2 separate regions of the Homo sapiens genome follow, and region 1 is linked to region 2. The links are contacts of gene promoters, found by promoter capture Hi-C in human tissues and cell types (Jung and others, 2019). All regions are on one chromosome and are shown on one strand. The core of a region is centred on a gene start or on the middle of the fragment in contact, and the rest is flanking DNA. Distances in the headings are between cores, read along the strand shown.

Evidence for each region. The method cuts DNA at HindIII sites, captures the fragments that hold promoters and counts their contacts. A contact is called where the count stands out against the background at its distance.
Region 1: a fragment that was not itself captured here is called in contact with the fragment with the promoter of TDRD9 in region 2 in 1 of the 25 tissues and cell types used here (lymphoblastoid cells).

What each region holds. Positions count from the first base shown.
Region 1 is chr14:104,776,288-104,779,762 of GRCh38, forward strand. AKT1 (AKT serine/threonine kinase 1) reads right to left here. Exons shown (of 15, transcript NM_001382430.1): 5 at 372-483. Among named protein-coding and RNA genes, the nearest start is that of AKT1, 18 kb to the right of the region's middle. The HindIII fragment of the contact is 9,824 bases long and covers 1-3,475 here.
Region 2 is chr14:103,926,929-103,930,780 of GRCh38, forward strand. TDRD9 (tudor domain containing 9) reads left to right here and starts at 1,528. Exons shown (of 36, transcript NM_153046.3): 1 at 1,528-1,796. The coding sequence starts at 1,582. The HindIII fragment of the contact is 10,851 bases long and covers 1-3,852 here.

The DNA.
Region 1 (3,475 bases), core at 248-2,747, 850 kb after region 2:
AGGTGTGCACCACCACACCCAGCTAAGTTTTATATTTTTAGTAGAGACGGGGGTTTCACCATGTTGGCAGGCTAGTCTCAAACTCCTGGTCTCAAGTGATCTGCGCACCTCGGCCTCCCAAAGTGCCGAGATTATAGACGTGAGCCACTGCACCCGGTCCCTAGCCAGTTTTTATCTCCAGCCTCAGTTTCCCCACCCAAACCCCACAGGCAGGACTGGGCCAGTTTCCAAACTGGGCTCTGAGGAGGGCCTGGGAGCACTGGGGAGTGAGGATGGCTACAGGCAGAGGTGCCAGCACCCCGCCATCCCCGTGTCCCTCCTAAGCGCTGGGGCTGCCCAAGTGCCTGGCCTGGCCGCCACAGCCCACGTACCGCTCCTCAGGAGTCTCCACATGGAAGGTGCGTTCGATGACAGTGGTCCACTGCAGGCAGCGGATGATGAAGGTGTTGGGCCGGGGCCGCTCCGTCTTCATCAGCTGGCACTCTGCGGGCAGGCAGAGCCTCTGTCTGCGTGCATCCCCCTGCCCCTCCCAGGGCCCTCACCACAGCCCCCGCTGCACCAGCCAGCTCCCCTTGCATACCACCCACCAGGTCCTGGGAAGCCCCATCTCTTCCTCTCTCCAAGCCTCAGTTTCTCGCCTCACAGAGTGGGGCTAGGACCCCTGTTCCAGCTCAGACACTCTACTCCAGGCTGAGGCAGCCACACAGGGCATCTGGCCCGGCGTCAGGTCAAACCCCCACCATCGTCCACTCCTACAGTCCTTCCTTCAGTCTCTGAGCCCCGCCGTGCGCCAGGCCTCAGAGGATGAGGGGTATGGAGATCCCACAGAGGGGCTGGCATGAGGGGGGCACCCCAGAAACCTGCTTGTCCCACCTAGTGTAGAAATGTCCTGCTTTTTTCCCAACCTCACCCTGAGTACCTGGGAAATACAGCCACCTGGAGCACACCCACACCTGGGGCACACCCACACCTGGGGCACAGGCACACCTGGGGCACAGCCACACCTGGGGCACAGGCACACCTGGGGCACAGCCACACCTGGGGCACACATACATCTGGGGCACACACACACTGGAGGCAAAGCCACACCTGGGGCACACGCACACCTGAGGCACACACCTGGGGCACACGCACACCTGGGACACAGCCACACTGGAATACACAGACATCTAGAACACATCTAGACACCTAGCCACATCTGGGGCACACGAACACCTGGGGCACACGCACACCTGGGGCACAGCCACACCTGGGGCACAAGCACACCTGGGGAACACATACCTGGGGCACAGCCACACCTACAGCACGTACACCCTGAGGGCTGTGGGAACGTGCGGGGCCCTGAGAGGTGTGAGTGAGTGGAGTGTGTAGCCGCTGGGGCTCCGTGGCAGGCTCTGGCCCAGCCTGTGCAAAGCAGGAGGAGGCTGAGGGGCCAGTGGGGGGCCTCTGACATTCCAGCATCGAGGCCCTGGCAACCACAAGGGGGCCTGGCCAGGCAGCAAGGAAGCTGTCTTCCAGGCCTGGGGGCCAGGAGGGGGCTCGGGACCAGCCTGGTGGGGAGGGTGGCCTGTGTCAACACAGGCCAGAGAAGTGGAAACCGGTGTGAAGCCCCGGCACACCCACCTCCCACTCGCTCCTGGATGGTCCGATCTGCCCCAGTATGCAATCCCCAGGGCCAGAGTCTCGAGCCCACTGCCCCGGAACCGTTCCCCGGAGAAAAGCCCCGGACAGAGGCCCAGCACAGCCCCTGGCCCCTGCCCAGCTCTGCTCCTTGGCCAGGCGCTCCAGGCCACTCACCTATGGCCTAATCTGAAGGCCCCAGCCTTGCCAGCTGCTCAGGCAACACCTCCAGCTGGTACCCACCCGTGTGCCTCTCCAGAGAGCTCCCCACCTCGTTCCTTCCCAATGCCTCGGCCTGGCGAGCACACCCACAGCACCCACCCCCAGCAAGGCCCTGTCCCAGGTGCCACCAGGCACGCTGCTGGCACCCAGCCTCTCCCTGATCCCTGAAGCCCCCAGCCCCAACCGAGGAGACACTGGGGAGGGTGTGGGACAAGTCACAGTGAGTCTCCTGCATGGTTACGAGGCTGTCAGGAGACAGGGGTGTCTGCCTTCCTGGTCTCCCCTCACCCCTGGGGTGCCCTACTCTATCAGGCTGCCCTGCTACTGCTGGCTTGAGGCTGGAAGAGCCAGGGAAGGAGACCTCGGCTTACAGGAACCAGGTCCTGGTAAACCCCACCCCAACCCCAGCCCCTCAGCCTGGGGCTTTGCAGGGCAAGGCCTCTGCCCCTCCCAACTAGAAGCTTCAGGGCACGGTTTGCTGGCCACAGACCACCTAGCAGCCAGGGTGCCAGACTGACCCCACCTCCCCTTATACGTGCAGGCACCAAGGGTGGGAGTCCTTCCCTGCCCAGCCTGGGGACGGATTCCCTGCATTTAACCTCCTCCCAGACCCTGGACCAGAACCTGGGGGTCCAGCAAGTTCAAGGGAGTCGGAGGACCGCAGGCCTCAAAGAAAGGAGGGCAGAGCTACTTGGAGGGGAGGGGCCGATGCAGCACATGGGGATGGAACCTAAGGCCAGCCCCTGGTGGGCACCTCGCTCTGCACCACAGACCTGCCTGAGACAGATCCCAGAGGCCTGCAGTTACCCAGCCCTGCCACATACAGATGGCCCACAACTGGGCCCTAATTAGCCACTCAGTCACACCTGCATGCCCAACCCGTGTCTCTGGCTGCCACAGGCAGAGCTGGGCTCCAGGACAGGGACACAGAAAATGGGGACCATGCTGGGAGGCCCACGTGTCCCCAGCCTCCCACCTAGCAGGGCGCCTGGGTCTCCATGCCAGGGTTCCCGTCTGACATGGGTAGGGTCGCACCTGCCCCCGCTACAGGTAAGGAATAAAGCCACAGCAGGGCGGAGCAGGGAGCGTCACATGTCTCTCATCTCTGTGGGATGCTCCGGCCAAGGTCCCCCGCTGGCCTTTCTGCACCTGCCCCTCCATGGGCAAGGAGGCAGCCTCACAGAGGGGAAGCAAAGGCTCTGCCATGGGGTCTGGAGGCTGAGAGCCTGTGCAGGGAGAGGCACGAGCTCTTCCTCGAGTGATGGAGGCTTCAGAGCTGGAGACCCCAATGGACTCTTGCCCCCTCACCCAAGGGGTTTCCCAAGGAGAGGCCCTGATGGGCTCTATCTAACCCCCTTGGAGGAGGGGCCCCCGGGGCAGCTGTCCACCCTGAGACTGGGCTCTGCTGCCACTTGTCCGGACCCTCCAGCTTCCAGAGCATGGGCACCAGGGAACTGCTCCAGGGTCAGCCAGCCTTGGGACTCGGCCCAGAGACCCCCGCCCAGCCAGCCTCGGCCTCAGGACTCTGCCCAGAAACCCCTGCCCAGCCGGCCTCGGCCTCGGGACTCAGCCCAGAGACCCCGGCCCAGCCAGCCTCGGCCTCGGGACTCGGACCAGAGACCCCCGCCCAGCC
Region 2 (3,852 bases), core at 278-2,777:
TGCTTGAGCCCAGGAGCTTGAGACTGGCCTGGGCAACACAGCGAAACCCCTGTCTGTACTAAAAATATAAAAAATTAGCCGGTGTGGTGGTGGCGTGAGCCTGTAGTTCCAGCTATGCAGGAGGTTGTGGTGGGAGCATCACCTGAGCCCCCGAAGTTGAGGCTGCAGTGAGCCCTGATTGCAGCACGGCACTCCAGCCTCAGCGACAGGAGTGAGACCCTGCCTCAAAAGAAAAAAGAAAAGCAAGTTATTTCTTCCTGGCAAAGTGTGTTGAGGCACTTTTGGGAACCTGTCGTATTTGGCAGAGTCCTAATATGAGGTCTAGAGCTCATTATGCCAGGATTTGGAGCCAGAACTCCTGGCTTAGTATGATTATGGGTTCAATTTTTGAGACACCAATAGCTCAACCTACCTGCCTGATTTCTGTCTACAGTGTTTTCAAACCGCCCTCTTATTTGCCACTGCTTGGGCTTTACACTGCTGATTAGAGCCATGCTCTCGATACCGTCTCTGTATTTGTTCACATGGCTCTTTCCTGAGAGCCCACATGGGCCAGATAGATCCTGCCCTGGCCAGTGAGGGGGACACACCCCAGGCAGGTGGCCATGTCTCTCTTCTGACCCTCCCTTCCCTTGCACACGTGGCTGCCTTCCCGTGCATCCTTTGTTGATTTCTTCCCGCGGCTCCTTCTTTTGGGGAGTTTGCTAGGGCTCTGTTCTCCACCCTCACTCTTCTAGAGCTCGGCCGGGACCACCTCAGCCTGTATCTTTGGTCCATGTGATCGCCTGGACCTCCTGTCCGCACCTGTTTGTGTCCAGCTGTGAGTCTGACACCGCCGCCTGAGACACCGGTTTAGGAAGGAAGATGAATTCAGTTATGATCCGGCTGCAAAGAACTTCTCCCAGATCCTCACCTCAGCCATCAGGGCCGCCTGCCCTCCCCTATAACCCTGGGTGGTCCTCCGTCTGGCGCATTCCCCCGTATCCTGCAGGGGTCTGCCTGGCGTTACTTTCTCCGAGACCTTCCTGACCTTCTTCTTGCCCCTCTCCCCCCATATTAGGTGCAAGGATGTCCTGGTACGTCTGACCCACGAACGCAAATCCCTTCTCTGGTTTGCCTTCCATCTCCTCACCCTGAGGTGCTCAAGAAACGTATGTAGGGTCCCGGTCCGCTCAAAGCGCACAAACCTCCGAGGCAGCAGCCTCTAAATAGAGAGGCCAGGGAGTGACCGGAGGGCATTTTCTTGTACACACAGGGGTTGCCACGGAACTCCCGTGAAACAGACTCCCGGGCCAGCCGCGGCGCTCAAGCTTCCCCTGAGGTCCTAGAAAGGCTCACCCTGGGCTCGCTCGGGGCGGCGGCTCCCGGCAGGCCTAGCGCGGCGGGGCGGGGCCGGCGGCACGAGGACCAGGCAGCGCGGGCAGCACGCGCCCGGGCCGGAGCCCGCCCACAAGGGCGCGCGGCGCGTTCTGATTGGAAGGCCTCGAGCGGGGGCGGGGCTTCCAGGGTGCGCTTCCGCCGTCGCCTGTTCCCGCCGCGGAGACCCGGCAGTTGGGGGATGCCGACGCCTGGGCCTTGAGGATGCTGCGGAAGCTCACCATCGAGCAGATCAACGACTGGTTCACCATCGGCAAGACGGTGACCAATGTGGAGCTGCTGGGCGCGCCGCCCGCCTTCCCGGCAGGGGCGGCCAGGGAGGAGGTGCAGCGCCAGGACGTGGCCCCCGGCGCTGGTCCCGCGGCCCAGGCTCCGGCTCTGGCCCAAGCTCCGGCCCGGCCGGCCGCTGCGTTCGAAAGGTAGGACGCGGGCGGGGCGGAGGCGGCTGGAGGGCGGCCGGGCGAGGCCTGGCGACGAGGGCACGGGCCATCCAGATCCTTCTCGCGAGCCCGTGCCCTCTCGCGGGGCTCCAGGGACCCCTGACCGTCCAGGGCGAGTGGTCACTACACAACCCGACGCGCGGCCCAGAGCGGTGCCTGTAAGGAAGCTGAGCTAGAGGTTTTTTTTTTTTTTTTTTTTTCAGTTCTTAATGTTTAACAGACTAGTTTTTGAGGCACTCAGGTTTTCAGGATAACGGAGCGGAGGGCAGAGGTCCCATAGGCCCCTTCCCTCCCAGAGTTTCCCCTGTGAGCATCTGCGTAAGGTGTGGGTATTTGTGACAGTCGGCGAACCTGCATCGCTGCGTCTTCGTCACCCGGAGGCCATCGTTACAGGAGGGTTCACGCCTCGTACTGGACGTTCTGTGGGTTTGGACAAACGCCTAACGTCACGCATTACAGAGTTCACTGACCTACAGATCTTCTCGGCCCCACTGTTCCTGCCTCCCTTTCCCTACACCACGTGGAAACCACTGATTTTTTTACTGTCTCCATAATTTTGCTTTTCCATACTGTCATCTAGTTGGAATCACACAGTATGTGTAGCCTTTTTGATGGGTTTCTGTCACTTAGTATTAGTATGCATTTGGGGGTTCCTCCATGCCTTTCCATGGTTTGATAGCTTCTTTCCTTTTAGCACTGATTAATATTCCACTGTCTGGATGTACCACAGTTTATCTCCATTCACCTACTGAAGGAGAGCTTGGTTGCTTCCAAGTTCTCCCCCCACCCCCCGAGATGGAGTCTCACTTTGTTACCCAGGCTGGAGTGGAGTGGCGCCATCTCGCCTCACTGCAATCTCCCCCTCCTAGGTTCAAGCGATTCTCCTGCCTCAGCCTCCCGAGTAGCTGAGGCTACAGGCATATGCCACCACGCCTGGCTAATTTTTGTATTTTTAATAGAGACAGGGTTTCACCATGTTGGCCAGGCTAGTCTAGAACTCCTGACCTCAGGTGATCTGCCCACCTCAGCCTCCCAAAGTGCTGGGATTACAGGCGTGAGCCACTGCGCCCGGCCTGCTTCCAAGTTTTGGCAAGGTTTTTGTGTGGACATAAGTTTTCAACTCATTGGGTAAATACCAAGGAGTGCAAATGCTGAATCTTTGTTAAGTTTCACAGACTCCCTCCTCATCTCACTATTCTTTAAGTAGCTACCATCAGTTACTCTGTTCACTTGATTTGGGTGGAAATAAAAAGCAAGAGTATATCCTCTGTTTTTAGAGGAAAGACGTAGATTTGGTGAGTAGAAACACCTGCTCCCTCTTCTCGCTCTTTAAAAAGGCCCTGGGAGAAGTACTTCCAGCTTGGAGTATCTCCGTCACTCTTGCTCAGTCCCCAAGTCCAGCACGCTTTACAGTTGAGAAGGTGGTTTTGTTTTTCTTTTTCTTGGTTTTTTTTTTTTGAGACATAGTTTCGCTCTTGTTGCCCAGGCTGGAGTGCAGTGGCGCAATGTTGGCTCACCACAAACCTCCGCCTCCTGGGTTCAAGCGATTCTCCTGCCTTGGCCTCCCGAGTAGCTGGGATTACTGGCGTGTGCCACCACGCCCAGCTTATTTTGTATTTTTAGTAGAGACAGCATTTCACCTTGTTGGCCAGGTCGGTCTGACCTTGTGGTCCACCCATGTCGGCCTCCCAAAGTGCTGGGATTCCAGGTGTGAGTCACCGTGCCTGGCTTTATTTTTCTTTTTTAAAGTTACTCTTGTTTGTTAGTCTTGTCTGATTTGATGGATAGGCCCAGACTCTGGGTCAAGCTTTCGTGGGTTGCTTCAAGCCTTTGTAGAGTTCTTTCAAGTACACCTTTGGGATCTTTGGTAAATTTGGTTCTTAGAGGCATAGGGGGGACCGAGAGACCCCTTGTGCAACTTTGGAGTTGCTGTTTGTATGTTTGCACACTTTACTTCCTTGAGCTACTCTGGTAAATGATCCTGTGGGCCGCCTCCCCTACTTAATGGTCCATCACTTACTCCTTAGTTTTAACG